7 separate regions of the Homo sapiens genome follow, and all the other regions are linked to region 7. Evidence: promoter capture Hi-C in 16 types of primary human blood cells and fetal thymus (Javierre and others, 2016). All regions are on one chromosome and are shown on one strand. Each heading gives the region's core, a stretch centred on a gene start or on the middle of the fragment in contact. The rest is flanking DNA. Distances are from core to core; before and after follow the strand shown. Region 1 overlaps LOC107986419 (a long non-coding RNA gene). Region 2 overlaps ADAMTS6 (ADAM metallopeptidase with thrombospondin type 1 motif 6). Region 3 has its middle 340 kb from the start of CWC27. Region 4 overlaps ADAMTS6 (ADAM metallopeptidase with thrombospondin type 1 motif 6). Region 5 overlaps ADAMTS6 (ADAM metallopeptidase with thrombospondin type 1 motif 6). Region 6 has its middle 350 kb from the start of ADAMTS6. Region 7 holds the start of ADAMTS6 (ADAM metallopeptidase with thrombospondin type 1 motif 6).

Region 1 (4,254 bases), core at 199-2,698, 410 kb after region 7:
CCTCAGAAGAATGTCCAAGCTGAAGAATAATTGGCCCATTTTCTTCACAATCCCTAGAGTTGTACTGGAAACAGTGGTTGGGGTTGGACTGTGCACCTGCAACGCTATGGGCACTGTCCCCAACAGCCTGAATTCGGAGTTTATTTATAGGTTGCTTTCTTCCCCCTCCCAAGCCTCTATGGAGAAAGCTCTGAATCCCAGAGCAGCTGGAATCAAATAAAGGGATACCATGGAAAATAAAGGGATGGGGCAGGGCTTCTGCCATAAGGTCCAGATTTTGTGAGAATTATGACACCATCCAGAAGTGGTAGGGCTCCTGTGAACCACACAACTCCATTATAAGACAAAAATGACACAGGTAACTGATTCCTAATCAAATTTATGGTTTGCTCCATATTGCCCAGGCTTTTGGTTTTGAGCCCAGTGTTCATTGTTGCTATTAATTGCCAGTGGAGGCCAGCCTACTAATAGGGAAGCAACATGGCATCATGTAAAAAGGCTTAAAAAGTATGGGTGTGCAATTTAAACTATCTGCATCCAAATCCATTTCCTTCAACCTGTGTGACCTGGGATAAGTTAACCTTAATGGAGACTAAGCTTTCTCCTTTAAAAAAAAAAAGCGATGAAAATATCGCCCGGGCACAGTGGCTCACGCCTGTAATCCCAGCATTTTGGGAAGCTGAGGCAGGCGGATCACTTGAGGTCAGGAGTTCGAGACCAGCCTGGCCAACACAGTGAAACCCTGTCTCTACTAAAAATACAAAAATTAGCCAGGCGTGGTGGCAGGTGCCTGTAATCCCAGCTACTTGGGAGGCTGAGGCATGAGAATCACTTGAACCCAGGAGGCGGAGGTTGTTGTGAGCTGAGATTGTGCTACCACACTCCAGCCTGGGCGACAGAACAAGACTCCATCTCGAAATAAATAAATAAATAAATAAAAAATATCAAACTTCATAGAGGATTGTGAGGCTCTAAAGAGATGACGGATGTAATACACTTAGCACAATATAAGTGCTCAATGAACATCATTGTGGTGGTGGTAGCTGCTGATAAAAATTTGTTTTAAGAAAGCCTGATGTCTTCCTGTTAGCTAGAAGACCACTTCTCCACTTGGGGAATAGAAGGTGCTAGGTGTCACTAAACTGTTGGTGATTTCCACCAGAGAAGGGAAAGACCAACGGGGAAGGGCTGAGAGCTGTCTGATGCTGTTCACATGCACTCTAGCAGACTCCACTTATAATCTGGCCCAACCAGCTTGATTGAAAAAGCCAGCCTCTCCACAGGAATTTCACACATGCAAATGAGAATTTTGATGGTCCTTGTAAAATAACCTCTAGTTTAGTCTGAACAGTCCCTGCCATTTGAGAGCCAAAGTCCCCAAGATGGGCCAAATTCACTGCACAATTGCTCTAGTCTGAACCCAGCCTCAGAGACCACAGAGGTAACAGTTTTCAATCTTCTAGTCCCAAGGATGCTCCCAGCATTGCTGCTGAATAAGCCAGCCCTTTGGTTACTTCAGTGCAGAGTGAGCCAGACAACCGTTAGTCCTAGGAAACAAAAGTCAACCCACATTAGCACCCACCTTTTAATACTGTATTTTCAAGCAAAAATGTCAATGTAATCTTTAAGAATGAGAATTTTTTGGTTTATCAAGAAAGTAGCACCCTTTTAAGGTATACTCATTTGTAGATTTTTCTTGATACTTTCAAGATTTTGGCTCTCCTTTATATGCCTGTAATTATTTACTTACCTCCTTGAGAAGGATTTTTTTAAGGTTTTCAGGAGAGTGAAATAGTTGAGCTCTTGGAAATATTTAAGTATAGTTCTACTTTGTTTTATCCAGTACATCTGGATTATTTTAGCCCTAGGCAAAGATCCATTAGCATCACACAAAACTATGTTGTCTTCAAACTATATTTTTGACTAAAATTTTCACCTTAAAGAAAATGATGTTTATACTGTTTAACACAGAAAAGACTCATTCATACTCTGACTTCTTGGATGATCTCTTTGTATTTCCTTTCTGTCTTCCTCTCCCTCAAATGTGGGCCTGTCCCAAAGGTCTATGCTTGGTCTTCTTCCCTAATCTCTCCTCACTGCAGAGATTTTAGTCATCCATATTGTTTGACCTGTCACTTCTATTTAGGTGCTGTCTAAAGAGTAATGCTCAGAAAAAGAAGTGAATGATCCCTACTTCAAAAGCATTGAGCTTGGGGAGCCCACAGGATGTCCAAATAGAAAAGTCCAACAGAAACATTTCCCCCAGTGCACACAAAGACACTGTTAAGTAAAAGCTTTATTCAGGTTTCTCTTGCCTGTAATCATGCCTTGAAAAAGCTCCTATTTTAATAAATCATGGGCCATATCTGTTTGACAGAGAAGCTGATGAAGCAGGTCTATTTTTCTTACGTCGTTTCTTTCTTTCTTTCTTTTTTTCTTTTTTGGCCCTTGGGGTCTCTCATTTCTTGCTTCTGTTTATCCAAGTTTTATTTACAGTATCCTAATAAATCTCTACGTTGCAGGATCATATGGACATGTAGACAGTTTCAGGGGTTACCCAGGAGCACTGTAATGTTAGGAAGCAGATGGCAATGCTTTACTGTTGAGGACACAGGGACCTCACTGCATGATACTGAAGTCAAGTTTCTCTCACTTGACTTAAGGAAAGAGATTCAAATGGAGGACAAGAGGGAGTCTTATATAGATCCTGTCCAAACCACCACTGGGCTAGGAGCAGCAGAAAATGTCCATGCTATCCCTTCCTCAGCTGGGTAATGACACATAGAAAGCTACTTACTTCCACAATAAAAGCGCATGTAAAAATTCTAATATTCAAATGCCCCTAAGTATCACCTGCCTACAGCTGTCAATGAGGTCACATCAGTATCAGTTCCTTAACCCCCTTCTCAAAGCTTAGCTATATTATTTCCAGGTGTCCCCAAGACTGTCCAGCCTGGGTTAACATTTTGATGTCATTCCATATGAACGTACATTTGATGCATATTGCTTTGTCATCTTCTTTTTCACTTGTAGTTTACTATGAACTTTCTCCAATGAGTTAGATATTTTTTCCATAACATGATTGTTTATGTTTATATCACATGGATAATTTGTTTAAACAGTCTTCTATTGTTGTACCTTTATTTCCAATAAAAAATAACTTTGTGGTGAATGTCTTTGCTTATACAGCTTTGCATACATCTCAAATTATTGGCCTGAAATAAATCCTTGGGCATGAAATTGCTTGGCCATAGGTTATGCTAATTATAAGAAGTAAATTCTATTATTGTAAATAAGTAATGATAAGGATATCAAATACTACTAAATATGGGTTAATGGGTGGCAGTTCCTCTGGAGAGAGCTTTTAAAAACAAAAAGATACTTACGGCTTTTTAAAAAAATGCATCTTAAGGAACAAAAACCATACCAAATTTATCAATACAATGGAATAATTTTGAATTTTGAAACTGCTCTATAATCTGACATTTTTGCTTCCTAAAATTTAAATTAGATACAGTATTCATATGTAGGAATTGTAAGCATCTATTTAAAGAACATTAATATATAAATTATTAGTGATATTCATCACCAATAAATCATGCAAGTATGAACAGGCATTCTGCACTTTATTTGAAAGCTCAGTACTTGAAGTTTCTTCATTCTCTACTAGAGAGATTTTTAAGTTTTAGTGGTCTATAAAGGATTAAGTGGAATGTATGACTTGTATCCTTCGCTAGATTTTAAGAGAAAGGAGTTGTCACCAATATATTTTGACCAAATACCTTATTAAAGACACAACGAAGAATGGAGCTTGGAAGCAACGGTAGCCCAGACGCCTCTAACAGCTCCATCATTCTGTACTTTAATAACTCATTGGCAACATTATGAAGTAGTTTATGTTCCAGACTTTGCCTCCTGGTATCTAGATTTTTATAGGTGTTTTGATTGAGGTATAGAGGAGGCATTTTTTGGCTGCTGATTTCTATTCCAGATTGTGGGATGTGAATAATTTGGTAAATTAACATCAATGGGTTAGACTGTTCTTTGTTACCAAAGGCCCCTGGGCTGCCCATTCCACTGGATGGTCACATTAATTTGCAACCACAGGAGGATGGCTGCTGGGCACATACGCCCACATTGAATTTCCTTTTGCAGGTTTTCTCCCTATTTTGAATATTCAGGTAGCCACTAAAGTCTGAGGCAGCTCTCTCTTGTGCATTCATAATTCTGGCTAAACCTAGGGCTTCCAAAACT
Region 2 (4,151 bases), core at 800-3,299, 300 kb after region 7:
CTTTGCATGGGTATAGGCTAATGATTATCTCTGGAGACTGCTCCGAAGCATTCATAATTAAATTAATGTCTATACATTACATAACATACATGTCTATACATACGTAACCGTGGCTCATCTTGCTTTTCTAGAAATTTTTATTTTTTTATTTTTATTTTTATCTTTTACATAGCTAAGTAAAACAGAGGACTTCAGATGGACAAACACATTGATAGTAGTCCCCCCTTATCCACAGGGGACATGTTCCAAGACCCCCAGTCGATACCTGAAACTGCAGATAGTACTGAACCTTATATATACTATATACTTTTTTCCTATCTATACAAACCTATAATAAAGTTTAATTTATAAATTAGGCACAATAAGAGATTAACAATAATAATAATAAAATTAAAATATTATAACAGCATACTGTAAAAAGAGTTCCGTGAATGTAACGTCTCTTTCAAAATATCTTTCTATACTGTACTCATCTATTTTCAGACTTCAGTTGATTGTTGGCAACTGAAACTGGAAAATGAAACTGTGGATAAGGAAGGGATTCTGTATTTATCAGTAGGGTAAAGAGGGAAAAATGAAATTTAGGCTCAAGAAAGCAGAAGGAATAAGTAAATATAAAAACAAACTGAGGACTTCTCTGCTTGAACATCTCTGACATAAGGTCAGAAGGACTTGCTAGAGTTCTACTTAAATGAACCAGGTTAAAGTGGCATTTCTGTGCCTTTACTATTTTTACAAGCAATTTTTAAACATTTAATTTTATAATCACCTGTAAGAAGTACAATATTTGCAGAGAACAGAGTTGAGACTCTGGCTGTAGACATGTAATATTTGTGGCTGGATCTGCAGGGTTCAGGTGTAGTGTATTCACTGAGTAACAAATGTGACAGCAATGTAGTTTTCAGTCATTCACTGTCTTGAAAATCTGGTTGATTTTCAGTCATTTTCTTGAAAATATGGTTGAAAATCTCTGTACCTCTGTTACTATAAGATAAAATATCCTTGGCTAAAATGGTGAATTTTGAGGTGTAATTTTTCTAAAATGATTTCTTGCCTAAGTAAATGTCATTATGTGTTTAGCTTTACACATAACTGCACATTGTTCTACAGAGGGTTAGTCTTTGTGCATGTATCTTTCAGAGCTTTATTTTTAGTAGGAAACTGCCATCAGGATTTGTTTCTACCTCTTAGCATTTCAGTTTCCACACCTGTAAAATGGATATGTAACAGTACTCACTTCATGGAGTTTCTATGAGGATTAGGTAGATTATTACATGCCAAGGATTTAGAACACTACTTGACACAATAAATATTGTGCTGCTATGTCTTCTCATCCTTCTTTTTTTTTTTTTTTTTTTTTGAGATGGAGTCTCGCTCTGTCACCCAGGCTGGAGTGTAGTGGCACGGTCTCGATTCACTGCAGTCTCTGCCTCCTGGGTTCAAGCAATTCTCTTCCTACCAAATAGCTAGGAGTACAGGCACGTGCCACCACACCTGGCTAATTTTTTTTTGTATTTTTAGTAGAGACAGGGTTTTGCTATGTTGGCCAGGCTGTGGTCTCAAACTCCTGACCTCATGATCCACCCACCTCAGCCTCCCAAAGTGCTGGGATTCACAGGCGTGAGCCACCGCACCCAGGCTTATCCTTCTTATTATCAGTCATATCTGGTTTGGTTTTGGTTTGGGTTTCCTGGGGACTTCTCAGATGGAGATGAATGAATTGTCTTTCTTCGCATTCTTCATCTCCCCTAATTGTAAGCACGACCTGGCATATGATTTTAGGAAAGGCAGCTAGATACTACTACATTCTTAAAATAATAACAGAAGCTTCTTGCCACTGGAAAAAGTTATTAGAATAAACAAGAGATGTATGTCCCAGACTTTAATATGCATACACATGATTTTAAAATGTGAAGGAGGCAGGGGAGTGGCACAAGTGCATTTTTCAATGAATGCTTCCGTTAGAAAACTAATCATAGCCTCGAAATACAAAAACTGAGTTCCGTATACATCCTATATGTTTTTGCCTAGCATGTGGATGAAGTGGCCTTGTATCCTCTTGGACTTCACCTCAACTTATTCTTACAATAATTCATATTTACTATGTATTGTCATGAGTTTGTTTCTGCCAATACTAAGAGCAGCCTGTGAATACAATAATAACAGAGAAATGGATAATGAGTAGGCCCTAAAGTATGGGTCACAAGGCCTAGGATTTAGTTCCAGCTTTACCATTTGCTGTTTATCCTTAATGAAGTCTCTTAAGCTTTCCTCATCTATAATAATTCTTAAAAATTTGTTTAATAATGTTTAATATTTGAAAATATTTTCTGAACTGTTCATCTTTAATGAAATGTAAAGTAGTATAGTAGTGTTTTTGTTACCAGTGATAATATTAAGCTTTAAGAGAGTGGCAGAAATCCTCTTAAGTCTTTGGTTTGAACAGTGGAGGAGACTTGGCATGAAGCGAAGAGGATTAAAACAAGTGGAACAAGTTCAAGAGATAGAAATGGACTCGACACAAGTGAGGCAAGCTCAAAGACTTGGATTAGGTCTTTATTCATTCTACAGAAATTATTGCATGCCTTGGTTTCTTGAAATATAAGTGATTGTTGTATTAAATTAGACAATACATATAAAGTACATAGTACAGTGCCTGACATCCAGAAAACACTTAGTAAGAATTAGTATTAGAATGGCTCCACCATTTAATATATATGTGACTTTTTACCAGTCACTCTAAGTTTGTTTTCTCATTTTAAAAACAGAATAATAATTGCCACCTCATAGGAGAGTTGTAAGGACTATATAAATTATAGCATTTAGCACACTTGGTATATACAGTATTTATTAAATGACAGATGCTATTAGTGGCAGTAGTAGTAGTAGTTACTGTAGCTGCAACAGCAACACTATTTGCTTTGTGCCTGACACTGGGCTAGCACTGGAGAATATTGGAAATTATTTTATATGGCTGACATATAGAGAGATGAGCCTCAAGAGGTAAGTAGAGCCTTACTACTGTGGGGTACTAAGCATATATAGAGTTTGAATTTTTATCTTGAAGGCAATAGTAAGCCATTAAGGGATTTTTTTTTTAAATCAAAATGCAGTATAATTGGATTTGTGCTTTAGAAAGATCCCTCTGACTAAAGTTTAGGGAGTGGATTTGAGTGAGGCAAGAGGAGGAAACAGGAGACCTACTAGAAAGCCATTACAAAATTTCATATGGGAAATGATGTTTGTCTGAAGTAAGGTTAGTGGCAGTAGAGATGGAGAGAAATCAACAGGTGTGAGACAGATTTTGGAGTTGGATTAATAAGATCTAGTGATGGATTGTAGGGGTAGAGTGAGGCAGCACCAGGTTATGAGGATATTGATTTGGCTATGAAAAGGAATAAAAGGAATCAGGAATTTCTCTCTTGATCTTCACTCCCTAACTAAAGCCTCTTCTCGAGCTACACTGAAAAAATTGTGTTATCCCCTTTCAAAATGCATCTTAATGAAACCTTTTCTAAGTTGGAGGAAATGCATTCTGTGATTATATTCATTGTGATAAAGAGTTTGCATTGAATCATTGATGTTCATCTGAAAAATTTGTTAATATTTTTCTGTCTTTCTATGACATACTCCAGGCTCAAAGATTGCCCCTAACAAAATCCATGTGTGTACATGTGCACGGTGTTCACCTAGATAGCCTCATCCACAACTAGTACATCTTGATTTACCTAATGGTAAATCAAAATTGTCACCTTTCCAGATAAAGAAGAGCATATATTTATCAAGTGTTTACTCAGAGTCCTCAGCTGGCTCCTGGGGGATGTGTGTGTGTGTGTGTGTGTGTGCGCGTGCGTGCACATGTGTGTGTTTGCATGCACACAAGCATGCAAAGATGAAACAAATGGAGTAATTTTAAGGAGCTTATAATCTAATAGAGATGAAAAGACATGTAAATACATAATTATAAAACAGGCTGATGGTGTTAGGGACACGATAATTTATGTGTTCTACATCCACTTATATGGTACTTTTAACATTAATCTGTGTTTCCATGTCTGTCTCCTAAATAAGACTCTGAGCTCCTTGAGGGTAGAGACTATTTCATTCATTTTTTTTTTCTGAAGGTGGACAGGATTCTTTTTATTTTTTAT
Region 3 (4,278 bases), core at 256-2,755, 370 kb after region 7:
AGCAGATTAGTGGTTGCCAGGCTGGAAGGAGGGTAGAATGGGGAGTGACTGATTAATAGGTACAGAATTTCTTTTGTGGGTGATGAAAATTCCAGAATTAGATCATGATGATAGTTACAAAATCCTGTGAATGTACTAAAAGCCACTGAATTGCACTCTTTTAAATGGTTAAAATGGTGATTTTTGGGGGAGGAAAAAAACTAAAATCTAGATTCAGAAAGAAAATTAAAAGATAAGAATGATATTTTTATCCTCAATGCCTGTTGTTATACATTATAAAATTGACCTTGCAAAGTTAAAGGAAGATTTTGCTGCAAATCAAATTAGGGTGACTTACACAGGTATAGAAACTGTGTATTCCAAACTTCTTGAAACAATCTGATTTTACTTAATTGTATTATTTTCAATAAAGGTGATTCATTATATGGTAAACAAAAAAAGCCTAGACAAATAGCATACTTAAAATTACAACAGTCAGTGATTCCACCTGACTTTCTATTCATTAAGAGTGTGTCCCAGAATGAAGGTAAATTGGTAAAAAGACATAGATGATTAGGCTGGGTACGGTGGCTCACGCCTGTAATCCCAGCACTTTGGGAGGCCGAGGCGGGTGGATCACCTGAGGTCAGGAGTTGGAGACCAGCCTGACCAACATGGAGAAACCCTGTCTCTACTAAAAATACAAAATTAGCTGGGCGTGGCAGTGCATGCCTGTAATCCCAGCTACTCAGGAGGCTGAGGCAGGAGAATTGCTTGAACCAGGGAGGCGGAGGTTGAGGTGAGCCGAGATCGCACCATTGGGCCATGAGACCTAGGTTTGATACCTGACACTGGAAAGGGATTAACCATGAAGACTTCAGGAAGTCACTTAACCTCTCTTCAGCTCAATTTCTTTACTGAGATGCCAATCTACATAGACTAATAATTAGCCTCAGAGGGACTAGCGTATAGTATACATGTAATACATTATTATCATAATTTCTATAGATTGGCCAGTATGGGAAAATAAGAGAAAACTACCTCAAACCTGCCGGAGGAAGTTATGGCAAATTTCCTAGATCTCAATTGTCTTAAGCCAGCCAGGCTGACAAGGGAAACACATTCTATGCAAAAGGAATTACATATGCAAAGAGACAAAAGTATGGAAGATAATGACATGATATTGTATCAGGAACACAACATTGAGGTAACTTGGTCAGGGCATGTCCAGAAGGGGCAGAAGGTGAGCTGGAAAATGTCAGTTGGGGCCAGATCATTACAGAGTACTCCATCTTGAGTATATCACTTAAGAACTTTAAGAAAAGGAATGCAGTCAGCTTTGCATTTCTAGAAAGATAACTGGCTGAATGGGCAGAATGGATTAAAGTGAGAGGCAGTTCATCAAGGTAACAAGTTTGGAGGCTAGCACTTCTATACCAACAGGATTGGCATAGATGGAGACTAGAAGTGTAACTGACAAATGTTATTGATCGAACGGATATTGGAGGAGAGAAAGGAGGCATCAAAAAGTAACTCTAGGGTTGGGCGTGGTGGCTCACACCTCTAAACCTAGCACTTTGGGAGGCTGAGGCAGGAGGATCATTTGAGGTCAGAAGTTTGAGACCAGCCTATCCAACATGGGGAAGCCCCATCTCTAATAAAAATACAAAAATTAGCTGGGTGTGGTGGCACACGCCTCTAATCCCAGCTACTCAGGAGGCTGAGGCAGGAGAATTGCTTGAACCCAGGAGGTGGAGGTTGCAGTGAGCTGAGATGGCACCACTGCACTTCAGCCTGGGCAACAGAACAAGACTGTCTAAAAAAAAAAAAAAAGTGACTCTAGGCTTCTAGATTGTGCTCCTTGGAGGATAAGGACCACAGGAAGAGGAGCAGTTTGGGATACAGTCAGAAATATAATCAGCTCTCTGTATCCATAGGTTCCACATCCCTGGATTCACCAACCACAGGTTGAAAATATTAGAAAAAAATTGCATCTGTACTGAACATGTATAGACTTTTTTCCTTGTCATTATTCTCTAAACAATACAGTATAACAACTACTTAAATAGCATTTAGATTATATTAGGTATTATAAGTAATCTAGAGATGATTCAAAGCATATGGGAGGATGTACGTGGGTTATATTCAAATGGTACACCATTTTATATTAGAAACTTGAGCATTTAAAGATTTTGGTATCCACAGGAGGTGGTGGAACCAATCCCCCACAAATACAGAAGGACACCTGTATATATGTGGAACCCAACGGGGAAATACACATTTGAGAATAGGTGGTAGCTGGTATCATTAATTCATTATGTCCAGCAAAGTATTAAGTTCTATGATGCTATGACATGGACTTGCTCTTAGGGATTTATAGACTAGTGGGGATAGGTAAGGTATTTCACAAGTAGATACGTTAAGATGTGTGAAAAGCAGTGTTGTAATCAATGAAATACAGAATAGCTAACCCAGATTAGGAGTCAGAGGAAGCCTCTCTGACAATGTAACATTCCCACTTTGACTTTAAGGGCAAGTTGCAATTAGCTGGAGAAGAGAAACTAGGCAGAATGAACACTATGTACAAAGGCCTAAAGGAGAGAGAGCACTGCCCCTGAGGACCTGAAGGACATTCAGGAATACTAGAGCAGGGAATGCAAGAGATGGGGAAAAGAAGCAAGCAGGAGTGAGGATGTGAGGGGCCTCATAAGCCTTGGAAATAAATCTGGGTGTTTGGGTCGGGAGTATCTTGATAAGACTGAGTTCTAGAAAGGTCATGGTGCTGCACCAGAGAATGGCATAAAAGGGTGTGAGGTTGTTTGCAGAAATCAGTTAGAAGGCTTTCAGTGGCCTGGATGAGACAGATTTGATTTATTAATCAGAATTGTTTCAAGGAGACAGAAACCACCTCAAAAAGTTCAATTAAAAATGAGAAACTTCTTGGTTTCAGTAACTGAATCACAGAAAGACAAGGGAGCTGCTGGCCAGCAAGGGATGGATGGGGGAATGGAGTGCTGCCAGGACCCCTTTTCTACTTTTGCCCTCATCTCTGTGCATCTTGGAAAGTTTGCTGTTCATCTTTCAGGCCTGGTAGGGTACATGGCCTGTTGGTGGCTCTGAGATCACATCTCTACAGCTTCTAACTAAAGGAGACATTTTGTCTCTGATTCAGAATAGATTCAGAATACAAGTTCCCAGGAAATGCTGGGATTGGCTGGGCTCGGATCATGTGCTAATGTCTGGACTCAATTCTGTGGCCAAAGTACCTCTCCCCTTGGAGAGATAAGAGCATTGTCTAAGGGACATGGTCACCCCAATGGTCAAGGAAGTAAGGTCTGTTACCAGGAAGGCTGTAGGAAGATGCCGGCAGTCCCGGGCAGACACAAAAGCACTCTGGATATTCAGGTGATAGAATTGACACAAAAGCACTTCAGATATTCTGGTGGTAGAATTAACTGAATTTGGTGATTGACTGATTGTGGGGGAAAGGCAGCAATGAGCCAAGGATGACACTTAGATTTCTAGCTTGGGCAAATAGGAGGATGTGGGAGCCATTCTCTGAGACAGGAAACACAAGAATAGAAAGAGATGGTTTGAAAGAGAAAGTGAGTTCAGATTTGTACCATAGGAGTGCTGAAGAGCACATGGGACGGCCAATTTGAGATGCCCAATAAGGGCCTGATGCACAGAAGAAACAGCCAAGCTGGACAGAGATTTGGGAATCATCAGCACTGGCAGGGTCACTGCAGCCCCCGATTGGATGTGATCTTCCAGGAAGAATGGAGAGTGAGAAAAGAGGAGGAACTCTGGGGGCACCAACATCCAAAGGAAGATCAGAGAAAACTAAGAAGTAGCAAGAGAGAGGAAGAAACCAGGAAAGAATCCTATTATTGTGTGAATTATGGTTCATAATGGTTATGAAAGCTAGCACGGAGAATTAAAAAGTGATGGGAAGTGGAAGGGAGAGGACATGCCCTCTAGTTTCTAAGAAGCTCACAATCTGTAAGACCAGATAAGATCAGAATACATCAGCTAACAATGCAAGTAATGTATGACAGGTACCAACATGAGTTCTAGGAGGAGGAAGACAGCAGGAGCATTATGGATTGGGGTAGCCAGGGGAAGTAGGATATAAGTAGACCCTAAAAAGTGGGTAAGACTTGAATAGCTGGACACTGGGATTGGAGAGAGGAAATTCGGGTTAGAGGAATTTCAGGTTGGAGGAATTTCACGCGCAAAGGAGGAACTACACCAGGAGCACTCAGGAGATGTGCTTATGTTGGGGACTGATGACAGATT
Region 4 (3,806 bases), core at 697-3,196, 330 kb after region 7:
AGGTTTGTAGCCCAGGAGCAATAGGCTATACCATGTAGCCCAGGTGTACAATAGGCTATACCATCTAGGTTTGTGAAAGTACACTCTAAGATGTTTGCACATTGACAAAATCACCTAACAATGCATTTCTCAGAGAATATCCCCATCATTGAGCAACACATGACTGAACTTAAAAGGATTAACATATATATATAATATATGTTTATGTTGTGCCTTACACAAATGATATGCTTGATAAATTATAATTTTTAATGCTGTCACTACTAAATTAAGCTCTTGTGGAGTTAAAAGAGAATAAAAGATGAGTCGTGGTTGGTGAATAGATTTTCATCAAATCTAAAGATGTAATGAACTGATTCTTCTAGTCAGGCCAGTTCCTAGAAGGCAAAACCAAGAAGTAGGAACCGGATCTTCCATACAGCCTAGGAATCTCCATATTAATGTTTGAGTCCTGAAGTCTCCAGATCTCCCACAGGTCTTTCCCCACTCCTGCCCTCATCATAATTTTCTTGCTTTCTGTTTAATAGCTTTCTGATATTTTGCTTAAATGCGTAAATGTGTAACCCTTTCTGAGACTATATTTATTTTGACAGGGATCCCAGAGAAATAATACATGATAGTTGTTCTCAGAGGCAGATGTTTTGCTGTTAATAATGAGAACTAATGAACAATGCTTACTCTGAGCCAGGTGCCATGGCACATGCATTATCTGTATTACCTCATGCAAACCTCACAACATCCTATGAGCAGACCTTATCATAGTCTTTATTTTGGAGATGAAGTATCTGAGATTTAGAGAGGTGAAGTAACTTGGCAGAGGACAATCAACTCCTAGAAGAGGCAGAGCCAGAATTCACCCCCAGGCCCACCTGAATCCAGATCTCCTGCCCCTAACTACTGGGTTGTGTTGCCGCTGCAGGCAACTCAGGGGACACTCATAATCCCAACGTCCCTAAGCTTGATCCTGTTCCCAGAACCTACGGACTTCCTGCTTCCAATCAAGTTAAGTGGGAACTAACTTAACAAGGGTATTGGGAAGTTCAGAAAGGAACATCCTGATAGCTGGCCTCCAGCCTGCCCACAGGCTAGATACTGCCTCTGAACAAAAGGCTGTGTTCTGGGCCTCTGCATGTAGAGAAGAGTCTTATTTCTAGCACTCATCTAAGGAACAAAATCCCTGACTATTCATATTTGAGTTTTTTGTTTGTTTGTTTGTTTTTTGAGACGGAGTCTAGCTCTGTCGCCCAGGCTGGAGTGAAGTAGCACAATCTCAGCTCACTGCAACCTCCGCCTCCCGGGTTCAAGTGATTCTTGTGTCTCAGCCTCCTGAGTAGCTGGGACTACAGGTGTGTGCCACCACACCTGGCTAATTTTTGTATTTTTAGTATAAATGCGGTTTCACCATGTTGGCTAGGCTGGTCTCATGCTCCTGACCTCAGGTGATCCACCCACCTCAGCCTCCCAAAGTGCTGAGATTACAAACGTGAGCCACTGTGCCCGGCCAACTATTTATAATAGCCTTAATGGGTGGGTGGGTAGGCAGGTGAAGGGAGAAGCAATTTATGAATATTCTATTTCATTCATTATGTATTATAATTTAAACTGGTGAATTTACTTCTAATTTGCTCAACTCAGAGTTTTCTTGGTCCAGCTACTCTTCTAAAAATGGAGTAGTAAATCTAATGAAGTTGTTCCCCAGGAAATACTCCACTTTGTTTTGTCTGCAAACTGACTTGTGTCTTTAGGGCAGTATTTTCTTAGTAGTAGTTCAAATATTGCATCCTCATTGAGATATTTGGAGAGTAACTCCTTGCTTCCTTTCTGTCAGGCAATAAAGATACTAATAACTAATAATTGTAATAATAATAGCAATTCAGTATCCTACACTTATCCCATACTTCCTGTGTTCCAGGCACTGCTGTAGTTGACGTTCGTAAGGATACACGTGTAGTCTTACATGTTACACGTTGAGTGTGGGTTCTCTAATCATTTCTGTTTTACAGATGAGAAAACTTAAGCACAAAGAGGTTAAGTGATTTGTCCCTCTTCTACCTTCTTCCAGCTAAAACTTAAATTTACTGAGAATCCTGGTGTGAAAAGTTTTAATTCATATTTCTAGCTATTAATCTCTTTGTAAGTGAAATGTTGAGTAAGGGAGCTGGGTGGTGGCAGAGATGTTTTCAGTGGATTTGGGAGTTCCAGTTTCAAATTTTAAGACTTTCACCAAAGGAGCCTTTAAAAATTGAGATCAATAAGATTGTTATCTTCATATTCAATAATAAGAACTGGGAACTTTTCCATGTCTTTGTACTTAATTTTCCATGTTTATCATATGGCTCATGTGATAAACTACAATGTATCTGATCTCTTAGAACTTCAGTGGGTTTTTGAAGCCAGGAAAAAACAAGCAAACAACAAAAACTGTCTGTAACACTGAACATTACCCACTGCCCAGCCTGATTCCTAATTACCTTCAACAATTTACCCAGGATGCTTCAGTATAACTACCTGGAAAAATGAGGGTGGAACTTTGGTTCTAGCAGGCATGTGAAAATTTCATTACTAAGTTTACAGAGTATCCTAAAGTCTCCAAACAAAAGTGACCAGAATACTGGAAAAGAATATTATTGCTAGCAGTGGGGTTGTATGGAGCCAGGGGGAGTTCTGAGAATCAAAGGCCCATGTCCCTTTCTCTACACTGGACCCTCATCCCACCTTCTGCAACCAGCCTCAAGGGGAGATGGAGAAAGAATCATTTATTCACCTTCTGGCTGCAAGAACTGCAGACTGCAACTGTGGCAGTTCTAGCACTGAGGAGAAAATACACATAGGAAAAAAGAAGACCATGTCTCACTTCCAAATTAAAAAAAGACATTTCTACATGTTTCCATAACCCACAGACTGCTGCCATTTGAGGCCAACCCCTCAAAGCTTTCTTCTTTGTCTAGTGTAGTTGCTGAATCTAGGCCACTCTCAGCAATCCTTTTCATTCACCCAGGCCCATCCCCACGCCTCACAGATGCAGAGATTCTCTGGAGACGTGTACTTTGGTATCAAACAATGCAACTCATGTTTGATTTTGGATAACCTTGCACTGTTGAATAAAATAACCCTTGAGAAAGAAGCAATAAAAGTGCTGTAAGAAAAATGACTCATGTTTCCAAGCTGTCTAAAGTGATCACTTATCCTAGCAAATGGTAATTCTTTCAAGACACAGTGGGCATACACCATACTTATAAAAATCTGGAAGGAAAGCCTTGCAAACATTTTTTTAAATTGTGTTAAAATATATCAAAAGAATATTTCTAGTAGACTGTACCAGGCAGGGTATGCTTAAAAACAAAAACAAAAACCACATGGAGGTCGAAGCCAAGGTGGATTGGCCCAAAGGGGGTCCTTGCTGAACATGCAGGCCCATCGGCTTGTTTATGTACTTGTTTATGTGCCTCTAATTGTTTTCCATTTTCTGCCCCCATTCGTTAGAGTGCAAAGATGTGAATAAAGTGGCTTATTGCCCACTGGTGCTGAAGTTCAAGTTCTGCAGTCGAGCATACTTCAGACAGATGTGTTGTAAGACCTGCCAAGGACACTGACCCACAGAAAGCCAGAGAGAGTGCCTTGTCATTTCATCATGGAAATGCATCCATCAAAGAGAGCCACCCAGAGGAAGAGGATTGATGTCCTTGCAAATGCATTACCCTGTGGAAAACGTAACCACTGGTCAGCCCTAGCTGACAAAATTTCAATATTATTTTAGCTTCTGTGAAGTGGGATTTATTGATCCAAAGTGCTGGACACGGTATTAG
Region 5 (4,342 bases), core at 1,727-4,226, 280 kb after region 7:
AAGCATTCTAAATTATCTTTATGTATTTGATTACCTCATTTTACAAAGAAGAATGAAAACTTGCCTTAGGTCATTTACCTAAACCACTTAGAAGTCAAAAAGAGGTAACTAAACATGGCAGAATTTGGGATGAGAAAAAACAAAGGAACAAGATAAAGTGAAAGGTAATATCATTTGGCTATGAAAAGAGTTTGGCTATGAAATTTGGCTATGAAAAGAGTTCTTCAGATCAGTGAGGATCAGGAAAAGAGAAATCAGACAGTAATAAGATAAAATGGGGAAACTATAAACTAAAAATATTAGACCTGAAAATGCACTATTTTATTAGATATCTTCCATCATGTAATATAATTATAATGGTACTTGCCCTGTTCCACCCCACCCCCATTTTAGTGTAATCTCATTGAGGTCAAGACTGTCTTACTCAGTAACTTTCTCCCTTATAGTACTAAAAAAGTATACATTAGACATAGTAGGAACTAAATTAGTTAAAAACTTAGATACTTTATATGGAAAAGATTACTCTTAATAGCTAAGGAGTAATAGGAATTCTCTCCAGGGATAAGCTCAGTATACGTATGTTCCACCCTACCTTACCATTACTAAACACAGTTGTTCTAGAAAAATACAATATTTTTAGAGCTACATTTTGCTTTTGATCATCCTTTGTTTACTTAGGACATCCAGTTTTGCTTAGGACAGAAGGAAATACACTGAAAAGGACAGAAGGAAAGACACTGAAAAGAGAAGGGAAGCCTTTGAAAGATAAAAACTAGCAGGAGGCTCTTCAGAAGAAGGAACCATATGAGTGGAGTTGATTGGTACCCTGGGTTCCAGCTGTTAGATCCAAGGCAGATGGGCTTTGCTCTGCCCTGCAAATGCTTGTGTCTGGCCAACAATCACACGGCACAACAGCCAGATTCCAGCAGTGAAAGGCAGAGCGGAGAGACATTTTTTTTCCTGGCACTTGTCACTCTTTGGATGCTATCTGCATTAAAGATTTAAATTAAATTAATATTGCTGGCCATATGCTCTGTATACTGTAGTTATATAGTGTTGTCTTGGTTGCTAGCTACTATGGATGCTGTGGCTAAGCAAATTGTTGCCTTAGCCACCAGACACATTTTTAGTACAAGCTCTGACTTTTTAATGTTACCTCCTTCTCTTCAGAAAACTGTTTCTTGGGTAGATATGATGTGCTATGTCACTAGGTTAAATTATTTAGATGTTGGTTAGCCCATCAATTCCAAGAATACATTTATATTTCTTTCTTTTTATTGTTGACTCATTCACAGGAGGTTGTAGAATGCCCATTTATCCATTACATGGTCTATCACTGAAATGATGGGACTGATGAGTAGAGTTGAGAAGACTTAGAAAGTCTTTCTCCTGCCCTTAACCACCCCCGACCCATCCTTCTTGGTTTAACACATGTCACCCTTTCAAGTTAAATTCAAGTTGTAATTTCTGTACCTTGAGTGCCTTCTTTCTACTTTTAAGATGGTAAATTGCCCTGAGAAAAGCAATATATTGCCAAATACTATGTTACAAATGAGTTTACAAAATTATTTAATTCTCTGAAAGAAGAGAAAGATAGGAACACATGAGAACATTGGGCAGCTAATAAGAGGAGTAGAGGGACTGGAATGGAGGGAAGAAATGAAGAAGAGCGATGGTCTCTGAACTCTTTGCTCAGACTGGGACTCACTTGAACCATCACCACCCCCTAGAGTAAGAACAGCAGATGGTTTCCATCCAGGACTCATTTGCCATTTGATGGGCTTCTTGCACCTTTTCCTTTGGTACATACTGTATAAAAATGCCATTAAAGCCATTTCTTGATATGTAGCTAGAGCAGTGATTCAAGTGGAATATGCCTTCTTCCCATTGTATAAAAGAACCTTTGATGGGAAAATAGATCTTTAACTTTGAACTATTGGCAGAAAATTAAATATAGGATCTGACATTTAAACTTATGGACAAAAAGTGAGGGTTACATTTCTGTGGTAAGGACCATCATATTTGAATCTTTAGTATCAAAGAATAAAAAGATAAGCAAATTAAAAGTCTCTAAACAGAATATACCTTTTGTAGAGGGTTTAAAGTAAATATATATTGGCAATATCATCTCTTATAATTAACTTTCGTAATATGAAGCCATTACTTTTTTTAAGCATGGAGGAAGGATTGCATTAAAAAAACATATACATACAGTTTGCATGCCAGTAACTTTAGGTGTTTAAGAATAAAATACAATTAGTGTATTTTTATTAAATTCTGCAGAACATCTGCTTATTTCCAGGGGATCTGGACACTAAGCCACTAGAATTTTGTTTTTGATTAGGTACACACTGACTGGTCATGTGGACATTTTATGTTTTGGTTATAAACTATAAGTCTTTAGATTTGAAAGCATCGTGGTTTCGTGTAACTGGATGTAATTATTCCCAACCGGGTTTAAAATCAACATCTTAGCAATGTTTTACAGACTACTTTAAAAGAAGTTATGTACAAGAGGCTTGATCATATAAAAAGAATCTAAACTCAATCATTTCTCTTGTGGACTTAGTTTAGATTATTTCCAGTTGATCTGTATTTTCTACTTTCTAAAGTTAAAAGCTGCATTTTCCTTAATTCAAAAGTATGTGTTTAAAAATCCATTCATTTAGATGCCTTGGTTTATAGAGTTATCCTGTTGCTACTGACTTAAAAAGAAAAAAAAATCTGTAAACCTGCCAAGTGTGGGAGTAATAGTTGGAAGGAGCTTTGTATGCTGTTGGAGGAAGATAGTACAGTGTTGTAGGAAGATTTGGAATAGATTACTGATATAGTCAATTCTTGAGTGTGAAATACCACACTGTCTAATATAACATTCTAGAAGAAAATTAATAAAAGACAAATGTAAGGAAAACATGCATCTTCATAAAATATAGAGCAATTTCAGCTGTCTATTCAAGGACTTTAATTTTTACTTCATAAAAAATAGCATTCTGAAATCATGAAGCTAAAATGAACACCTAAGTACTCTTGATTCCCAGTTTTTAAGAAGTATGGAAGGAAGGCATGATCAAAATTAAGTCAATTCATAATTCTTAGCACTTAGCCCAATATCTCCCAAGAGATACTGTGTTTATATCTCATAAACACAATGCTTTGGTTTAGTAACTATCTCTGTTGAATGAATGAATGAATGAGTAAATGAATGAATGACCTGCCAACTACATTTAGCTGACAGTTTTAGTTTGGGTATACATGTAATTTTTAAACTAATTACTGGATCCCACTAAAGAGCAAAATAGCCCTGAAATTAAAGGGGTCTGAAACAAAATATTGGACTATGGGTCAGTTTTATTTCTTCCTTGTGGTTTTGTGTAATTTTCCAAATTTTTGATAACAAATATTATGTACCAAATTTTTTTCAAGATACATACATTGTTAGAATTTATCATAAAATGAAATATAAATCACAGCTCTACTAACTCATATCTCATCTATGATTCAAATTGCAGAGGCCCTGCTTTTGCAATAAAGGCTACTTTTGAAAACAAATGTAATTATAGCCAAACAACATTTCTAGGGTTAAGTTAGAGAAAGAAGAATTTTATCTTGACTTAATTCAGTTTCTACAAGTCAAGGAAACTGAATTAATGTTTCTGCCACTGAAACAAAACCAGATCAGTTGTATTTTGTAGTGTTGAGAATGTTTATTCCTTCCTGAGAAATAACCAAGATATGTTTTGGATGCCAGTGTTCTTGTTTCAAGTATAGTCATGTTTGAATGACTTAAAAAAAAATAATCACACTAACCAATAAAAAAAAATCCCCTGCTGTCCCTGATAGAGGCAAAATATTGAACCAGGATGGATGGATAATCTGAGCCACTGTTGGAGTTGGTAGTTGACTCCTATGACTAATGGTAGAGGTATCTGTCTAGGTGGACCACATGGACCTAGTTATCTGCCCACTGGAATGACACAATGGGGAGATATCCGATGAATATCATGGAACATCTGTGAATGGATCACAACTATGCCTGATGTGAATCATTCTTCCCTCAAAAATTCTAAAGTTTAATAGTTAAAAAATTCCAAACTGTTGTCGTCACATAAACTTCATTGTTTGGCTTATTTTAGGGGTTGGGAGGGAAGGAATACAATACATACTCTAGGACATTTTGCCAGTAAGTTGTTTGACTATGTTTAAGACCCCTAAGTTTAGGAAAACATAAAAAATGGTTGCAGAAGGTGATCAGCAAGAGCCCTGGGTCAGTGCAAGCAATAAAAAAGACTAACTGCTCACCACTGTCATGGAAGCTACAGGATTTAAGTGTCATGAGCTTGGT
Region 6 (3,850 bases), core at 135-2,634, 350 kb after region 7:
TAGTCTAAGCTGCCAATGGTGTGCCCCATGCACCAGGCTGGTCAATAAATATCACTGGAGACCTGGCAGGCTGTCAGGAGGGAAGGACACATTGGATCTGAATAGTTCAGGCACTCAGTCCAAGAGGAGAGAAATGGGATTCAGCCAGCAGTCCAAGTCTGGCCTGGTTGAGAAGTTGTAACAAAATGATAAGTAATCATGCTTGTTTATGATCAGAGAGCTTTTTATCCCACAGGCCAAGGTACTCTTGAACACACTTTCTGAATGTGTCCAGTGGCCTCAGAAAGTTCTGACTGACCACATCATCCCCATCTTTGAGGAGGAGAGGTTGAGTTATGGAGGTGTGAGTCAGCTCTTCCATGGTTGTAGGGTGCAAACAGCCCCAGAATTAGGTTTCCTGCCTTGCAACCAAGGGACGCATGTTTTAGGCCTCTTGCCTCTTCCACGGGACTCTTCTGATACAAATGTCACCTGCCAAACATCCAAAAATTCAAAGGCCCAACATGGCTTTGGCTTGGAACTTAAGTTGGCAAACGATTGGCAATGTGAAATGGAGACCTTTCCAAAAAGGGGCAGGGAAACAGCCAAGCAGGAGGTGAGTGTGGCTCCACTTCCCCAGTGTCCTCTGCTGGAGGGAGCGGATAGACACTAGACACCTCTGCTCTCCCCATTGGGCCCCACAGGCAACGCCGAGCCTGGCAAATGGGAGAGACTCACCCCTCAGGGCTCTGTTGGCCATCTGAGGCACTGGCTAACACAGGTGTGAACAACAGGTTCCACACTTGGCTGGCTCGGCCCAGCCCCATCTCTGAAAATGAGCGCATGGCTCAGAACCCCTGGAAGTGCCCACAGGGGCTGCTAGTCTGGGACAGTTTGAAACGCTAGTCCAACTTAACCAGAAAACTAAATGGCTTCTCTACAAGCATGGTTGCCAAAGAGATCATCAGTAAAAGGAAAAATCAATATATTGAATTTTTTTAAAAAAAATTAAATGGAAGCCAACTAGTTTAACTGAAGAGGCAAAATACTCAGTTTTTTAAAAATTCACTAGAAGCCAGCAAAGAGGATAAAATACAAAGCCAGGAGGAGTTGCCAGTCCTTAGAGACATGGCATAGTGAATATGGCGCACCAGCTGGCCAAAATGACAAGATTGTTGTTGATGGGCAGAGTCCTCCAGGGAGATGGGTTTGGATGGTATTGCTCCGGGATGATCACAGTTGTTTACATCTGTTCCTTGGAATATTACACAAGATTATATTCCAAGCCCTGTGCCTCAGAAACCTGGCTACAGTTCCCTCGGAAGCACAGTGGCCCTGTCTTGAGAAGAATCTTCCAAGCACGGTTAACCAGAGGGCCAAGGTGACACTGGCAGAAAGAGCACTGGATGAGGGATCATAAGAGCTGAGTCCTACCCCTGCTTCTGCAACCTGTCTGTACATCACTGGCTTCAGTTCCCTCTAGGTAAAGTGGAGTTCATACTTCCCTACCCTGTGTGTTGACTTGAGGCTCGAATGACATTCTATGTGTCAGATGTAAGGTTGTGGGTGCCCCAGGGCTATTCCACCATTACCCTGGCTTATTGTAGATCTCAAGGTGGTCCTGTCCCACCATCCTTGTCAATGTACGGGCTTGGCCTTCCACTTCACCTGCAGCTAATCGCGTGGAACCTTGGTGTAGATGAGCCAGTGGAATTTCCCTGGGAATGTGGAATTGGGATTCAAGGATGCAGCCCATCTATGTGTATGGCTGCACCTGCAGGACACATACACTTGTGTTCTGTGGGGTGGACATCTGCCATGTGTGTGGAGGCACAGAGGATGCTGATTTAAATAGAGAGGAGGCCAGGCGCAGTGGCTCATGACTGTAATCCCAGCACTTTGGAAGGCCAAGCGGGAAGGATCACTTGAGTCCAGGAGTTCAAGACCAGCCTGGGCAACAAAGCAAGACCCTATCTCCACAAAAAAGAAAAAAAATTAGCTGGGTATGGTGGTGCATGCCTGTGGTCCCAGCTATGTGGGAGACTGAGGTGGGAGGATCGTTTGAGCCTGGGAGGTCAAGGCTGCAGTGAGGCATGATGGTACCACTGCACTCCAGCCTCAGCAACAGAGCCGAGATCCTGCCTCAAAAAAAAAAATTAATAAAAAAATAAATTGGAGAGAAAGCAGCCACAGAGAGACAGCCAAAGAAGAGAGTCTGTCTGGCCCCACAGAGAGAGTGGCTGCCTTTGTTCCAGACAGCATCGCAGAGTCTGAGTTCAGTCCCTTGTTAATCATGGCTCTTTCGCTGCTATTCCATGAGGCCCTCCTAAATTCTTATACCACGTTCTCTTTTTTAAACTCACACTAGATTTGAATTCACTTCTATTTGCAATTCTAATAACCTTAGCTAACCGTCAAGAACCTTGCAGGTCAGATGAAAAATCTTAGCCCTTATCTCATAAGCAATGGGGACAGTACACAGCCAGTAAAGCAGAAGCTCCTCAAACTATCACTTAAATACAACATCGAAATGTGTCTGACACAACATCTTGCACATAATGGTCACTCAATATATGGTCCTTGAATTAAAACATCAAAATAGGATATAAGTCATGTGCAGGACTAATACTGTAGTTTAGTAAAGGAGAGCAAAACAATGAAAACAAACTGCTGAGCCCTCTCACTAATCTTCCTAATAATTAAATAATCTATTTATTTAGGAAATGGCAGGGGCTTCATCTCTTCTAAGTAGTATATTTTTCAGAATATGTGTATATATTCTGGCATCAAATAGTGTTTAGATAGTACAAGAAAGGCAACATTAATGAGGTCTTCTTTTCTGTATGGTAATTACAGACAAAATACTTCCAGGAATAGGTATTTTCCAAATACATACAAATATTAGAAAAATGTTAAGAGAGGAAACCTAGATATTTCCTTTCCAGCAAAGCAGTACTTCTCAACTCTTCACTCATGCTAGATTTGATTTTGCTTGTTTGTTTTGAGACAGGGCCCTGCTCTGTCAGCCAGGCTGGAGTGCAGTGGCATGATCATAGCTCACTGCAGCCTTGATCTCCCAGGTTCAATCAATCCTCCAATCTCAGCCTCCTGAAGAGCTGGGAATACATGTGCGTACCACCATGCTTGGTTAATTTTTTTTTAAATTTTTAATAGAGACAAGGTCTTGTTATGTTGCCCAGGCTGGTTTCAAACCCCTGAGCTCAAGTAACCCATCCACCTTGGCCTCCTAAAGTGCTGGGATTATAGGTATGAGCCACCAGGCCCAGCCTCATGCTGTATTTGGAGACTGTGTTCAAAACCCCAGAGTAATGGACACAGATAAACTAGAGAATGAACACATAAAAATACCACGGTAAGGAGACAACATTCAAGAACAAGGTCTTGGATCAGAGAATATTTGGCATGAAGATGTCTTTGCTGCAGTCTGAATGCTTATGGATCCCAGGCCCCAAATTCATATGTTGAGACCTAATCCTCAATGTGATGGTATTAAGAGGTGGAGCCTTTGAGAGGTGATTAGGTCCACTCTCTTGAATGGGATTTGTGTCCTTTTAAAAAATGCCTGAGGGAGCTTATTTGCCCTCTTCTGCTTTGTGAGGACACAGAAAGGACTGCCATTTAGCAAGAGGGCCCTCGCCAGGATCTGTTGGTGCCTTGATGATCTTGGACTTCCCAACCTCCAGAACTGTGAGAAATAAATGTATGTTGCTTAAAAGCCACCAAGTTTATGGTATTTTGTTATAGCAGTCCTGAACAGTATTTTGTTATAGTAGTCCTGTGGTATTTTGTTATAGCAGTCCTACGATAACCTTTGCAGGTTATCTTTATACCTGTCTTTAAATATCTTAAA
Region 7 (4,174 bases), core at 10-2,509:
CATTAACTAAGGGCTGGAATTTCAAGGCGTCAATTTTCCCCTGCCCCCAACCTCGGAAACTCTTAAACAGCTCCCTATTCTACACTCAATGGTAGAGACAGATAAATGATGCAGCAGATTACACCGTTGAAAGGCAACATTTGTCCTGAGCTATTTTCACATTTTTTCCTGTTTCCGATGTATGTGCCAGACTTTGTTTGCTTGCTTAGGACATGGAAAACACTGGGCATTTTCTCCCCAGCGGCTTTCATTCTCAGCAAATGAAAGTGAAAGTGCTACATTGTAGCGGTATTTTATCCTTAAAGTCTGGACTGGCAGCTTGTGTGTAGGGGGGAGGGAGGGTGGGATTGGGAAGGTTGAAGAACCAGTTTTGAGGTTTTGTTTGTTTATCTTGAGATCGCAGCAGGGTTCCTGTTTTTTTCCCTTCCTTTTTTTTTTTGGTGGTGGGGTCCTACTTCGGATTTATTTTCATTTGGGCAGTCATTGAAGTTTCATTCAATGGACTGACTTAAAAAAATACACTCCACTTGTGGCTTTTCCCGGTTGCACTTTAAAACACCATCCAGTCTCACCCTCATCTGGAAATAATGCAAGCTTCTCTCTTCCTTCCCCCGCTCCCTCCTCCCCTACTTTTTTTTTTTCTTCTTCTTCTTCTTTTAAAGCTCCACATAACCTGAAGTCGATAATCAAATGGAAAATGTGCTGGTATTAGTTTACTTTAGTTTACTTTCCCTTTTGGTGCTAACCTTACTTGCTGAAGTATGTATAAAACACAGGCATTTTGTACACTTGTAGCTACTGAGTCTTGTGCCTGCTGCACGAATCTAAGCTTTAAGTTTCCTCAGAGGCACTGTTTGCGTGCAAGTTTTAACATTTTGATTGTGTGGATTTTAAAAATAAAATTACACGGAGAATGACACCAGAGATCTTAACAGTGACATTAGTCCATCTAAAGTCATTCATCCTTCTCCCTCCCCCTTCATTTTTCCAAGAAACAACTAATAGCAAACCAGGCTAGAATTTCTAAGAGAGTTTAGAGGAGGAGGAGGAAAAGAGGCGGAATGAGATAGGACAGAGAGGTTAGAGAGGCCAGAATTTCTCTCATTCACAGTGTGGAAAAGTTGACATTGTCTAAGCCCTTCTGAATGGCTGGTAGTTGGTTACCCCGATTGTACCTCTACCTCCCCTCCCCCTCCACGTGACGACCCAGGACACATGCGCACCCGACGCAGCCCAGGCACATCTGCAGACTGACGTCAGTGTGCTCTGCCTCCGAGGAAAAGCTGCCAAAATTTTCTCCTGCTGCAATTCAAGTTGGCTGGGGGCCGGTAGTGAGATCTAGGGCTACTTCAACAAAACTTTGCTGCCCTTCCTGCTCCTCTTGTCTTCTTTTCTCCTGATACCTTTTGATGCTCTGCACATGTTATTTGCATAGCAAAGGCACTAAGCTTTCCAGGAAGAGAGGGCACCACTTCCACCCCCAATAAGTCTTTTTTCCCGTCTTTTCTTTCTTTTCCTTTCCTTTTTTGGGGGGTGGGGAGGGAGAGAAAGGGGGTTTGCAAAGGCAGCATCTCAGAGTGATAGCCTAGATGTATTGAAGGCATCTCTTATTCTGCCAAATCGGAAAGTCAGTTCTCTAAAGCCCGGGTTAGCCAGACCATAGGGTTTTATTCTGGCTGCAGAATAACTGGCTGGTGTGGCTTTGCAAAGGGGGGCAAAAAATAAAAAAATAAAAAAAATTAAAAAAAGTTAGAGAGGAGAGGGAGTACGTGAGTCGTCCAGTGCAATCTCTATTGTCTGAAACTTACTTTTTATCAGAATTTGAAGATGAAAACGGTAAGGAAGACTTAACAATATTCAATGGAGCTTTTTTTTTTTAAACCAACAACTTGTGCTTTGCTTGTCTTCCGAATAACGCTTAGAAAACTTTTTTTCTGTGTGTGTGTTTTTTTTTTTTTTTTTAATGGCAATGAGTGAGCTTGACTGAACTCATTTTACAAATAGATATCTTTTTAACTCCAGACTTGTCGGGGGTTGTAGAATTCTGGGACTTGCAGTTATTTTATGATGCAAAAAAAATACGTTTATTTTATGAATATACAATACATGTTTTGTGAAGTGGACTTGATTATGATTATTGTAATCTTTTAACTGATCACCAAATAGTAATCCGGAAGGTAATAATGATGTGTGTGTTTTAAATTGATTTCCAGTTTTCTTACAGAAAAGTCTTATGCATTTTGTAGTTTCATGTCAGTGTCGTTAAGTCTTCAGACAAGTGCATATTTTATGCCTGGGCTCAGAGGGTAGCATTAATGTGCTAGCTGTAGCCCCGATGCTCTAGGACATGTTAAGCTCTTAATAGGCTAATCAAAGAGATGGAAACGTGTGTTTTTGATTTACTTTTGGCCACTTGGGACGTGCTAGACTCATAACCCTCCGGAGCCTTGTTTATCGGGGTAGGTCTGTATATATGGTGTATGGGACCAAAGTTCAGGGATTGAGGAGGGAGAGTGAGAGTGCAGGAATGGGGTATTGGGAAGCCTCTTTCTGATAATATGTGCTACAATTCCTGTCTTTGATGCTTTCTTTCCCTGTACTAGAGGAAAAGTGAGCGAGAGATTGAGAAAGCGCACTGAGAGGGAACAAGAGAGTGAGTTTCTTACTCTTGTTTTTATTTGAGCTGCCGGTGCAACGCGTTTGGGCCAGATGCCAACTGTCTGGGTCACACGCGTTTTATCCAAATAGATTTAGCGCTGCTGTCTGGAAATGGGCTGCTGAATGTTAACTTTAGGATCAACTCAACCAGGGCAGCTCAGACTGTTACCCTCTGTCTGGGCGAAGTGGAATGGTGGGGGCGGGGGGAGGTGAGGGTGTGCAGAGCAGAGAGAAAAAGGGAAACTGAACCATTGCTTGGAACTTTAAAAGAGACACTTGAGTGTGATTTTCAACATGTTCTTTTTATGTTCAAGTGTCGTGGACTAATTTTCTGTTCTTTTTTCTTTCTTTTTAGTTTCTGTTGATTAGACTGAAATGTTTAGATGTGGGGATGACAGTTTTCAGAATTCATGACAGGAAAAGAAACGTAACACAAAATTGGTGTAGTTGAAAGAAATTAAGAAAATTAATTTTGGAGATAATTGTTTTCTTGTGTTGCAGCAAAGTGGTAACTGCAGTCTGGTTTATGTTAATTCTGTGCTTAAATGTGATCGTTAGTGTTTTGAATTTTTGAAGAATAGCATTTAGAGGCAAATACGTTGATTTCAAACAAATCAAATTCATTCATTTGCCACAGCTGCAAATGAAGTCTGTGTAGTGGTCTTAATATTTTTGTGATTCCCAAGAAGAAAAACTTCTAGCCTGAAGACTGAAAATACTGTAATACTCCTTATGTCTGGTCCCAATACCTGTAAGATTAATTCCTACTCTTGTCTACTCTTAGCACTTCCTCTTTCTTTCCTTAGTAATCACTAGTAGTAGTAACTAGGATGGGTCTTTATGCCAAATTTTATCAAGTTTGTGACTTTAGTGAGTGAATGAAGGGAGTTACCATATTAAGAGATAGTTAACAGCATATTTGGAATATGTGTTGGGGGTAGTGGGGAGAAAAAGAGGGGAAGAGGTGGATAGCTCTCTTGCTTCTGCCAAAAAACATGGTTGATTATCAAGCTAAGCTCAAGAGAAAAAATTTATAATACAGAAAATGTGTATTTACTTGCTATCTGGAAAAAAGTGTGAGACTACATGTAATTTAGGGCTTGAGTTTTATAAATCATGGTTTGTATTTTTGCTTTTAGCTCATTTGCTTGATAGATATGTTTTGGGTAATTTATGTGTTTAGTTTCACCTTTCCTTGGAAACCAATCTCACAAATTTTATAAATGATCTAGAAACCTTTATACTTAGAGCCTAATTGTGTCCTTAGCATACAGTAGGTGATAATAAATGTGAGAGAATAAATGGAAATGAAAGAAGTTAATTTTCATATGTAAAAATTAAACACCTGAAAGGAGCATGGTATTGTTGTTTCTTCCATGGAGACCAAATCAGCCTTAAATAAATAACCAGAGTTAAGATGGATGAAAGAAGTTGAGAAGAACATTATACACATTCTTTAGCTTCATAATAATAGTTCACAAGAGGAAATTATTACCTTGGCTACTCCCCGATCACT

Evidence for each region. Contacts are between HindIII fragments. The CHiCAGO score rates a contact against its expected background, and 5 or more counts as called.
Region 1: a contact is called between a fragment that was not itself captured here and the fragment with the promoter of ADAMTS6 in region 7, in 11 of 17 cell types (activated CD4 T cells, M0 macrophages, total B cells and 8 more). The highest score is 10.4, in activated CD4 T cells.
Region 2: a contact is called between a fragment that was not itself captured here and the fragment with the promoter of ADAMTS6 in region 7, in 1 of 17 cell types (endothelial precursors). The highest score is 6.5, in endothelial precursors.
Region 3: a fragment that was not itself captured here is called in contact with the fragment with the promoter of ADAMTS6 in region 7 in 16 of 17 cell types (naive CD8 T cells, megakaryocytes, total CD8 T cells and 13 more); the score reaches 18.5 in naive CD8 T cells.
Region 4: a fragment that was not itself captured here is called in contact with the fragment with the promoter of ADAMTS6 in region 7 in 1 of 17 cell types (endothelial precursors); the score reaches 6.4 in endothelial precursors.
Region 5: a fragment that was not itself captured here is called in contact with the fragment with the promoter of ADAMTS6 in region 7 in 1 of 17 cell types (endothelial precursors); the score reaches 9.4 in endothelial precursors.
Region 6: a fragment that was not itself captured here is called in contact with the fragment with the promoter of ADAMTS6 in region 7 in 3 of 17 cell types (endothelial precursors, M0 macrophages and total CD8 T cells); the score reaches 8.5 in endothelial precursors.

What each region holds. Positions count from the first base shown.
Region 1 is chr5:65,067,209-65,071,462 of GRCh38, reverse strand. The region is part of intron 2 of LOC107986419 (a long non-coding RNA gene); the gene reads right to left. Among named protein-coding and RNA genes, the nearest start is that of CWC27, 300 kb to the right of the region's middle. The HindIII fragment of the contact is 1,697 bases long and covers 600-2,296 here.
Region 2 is chr5:65,179,653-65,183,803 of GRCh38, reverse strand. The region is part of intron 22 of ADAMTS6 (ADAM metallopeptidase with thrombospondin type 1 motif 6); the gene reads left to right. Among named protein-coding and RNA genes, the nearest start is that of ADAMTS6, 300 kb to the left of the region's middle. The HindIII fragment of the contact is 439 bases long and covers 1,830-2,268 here.
Region 3 is chr5:65,104,762-65,109,039 of GRCh38, reverse strand. No RefSeq gene overlaps it. Among named protein-coding and RNA genes, the nearest start is that of CWC27, 340 kb to the right of the region's middle. The HindIII fragment of the contact is 5,582 bases long and covers 1-4,278 here.
Region 4 is chr5:65,151,623-65,155,428 of GRCh38, reverse strand. It overlaps ADAMTS6 (ADAM metallopeptidase with thrombospondin type 1 motif 6), which reads left to right. Exons shown (of 25, transcript NM_197941.4): 25 at 3,484-3,806. The coding sequence ends at 3,593. Among named protein-coding and RNA genes, the nearest start is that of ADAMTS6, 330 kb to the left of the region's middle. The HindIII fragment of the contact is 1,974 bases long and covers 960-2,933 here.
Region 5 is chr5:65,198,583-65,202,924 of GRCh38, reverse strand. All of the region lies in intron 20 of ADAMTS6 (ADAM metallopeptidase with thrombospondin type 1 motif 6), which reads left to right. Among named protein-coding and RNA genes, the nearest start is that of ADAMTS6, 280 kb to the left of the region's middle. The HindIII fragment of the contact is 8,501 bases long and covers 1-4,342 here.
Region 6 is chr5:65,129,891-65,133,740 of GRCh38, reverse strand. No RefSeq gene overlaps it. Among named protein-coding and RNA genes, the nearest start is that of ADAMTS6, 350 kb to the left of the region's middle. The HindIII fragment of the contact is 5,026 bases long and covers 1-3,850 here.
Region 7 is chr5:65,479,005-65,483,178 of GRCh38, reverse strand. ADAMTS6 (ADAM metallopeptidase with thrombospondin type 1 motif 6) reads left to right here and starts at 1,259. Exons shown (of 25, transcript NM_197941.4): 1 at 1,259-1,836. RefSeq lists enhancers at 1,057-1,106, 880-1,379, 1,147-1,506. The HindIII fragment of the contact is 619 bases long and covers 832-1,450 here.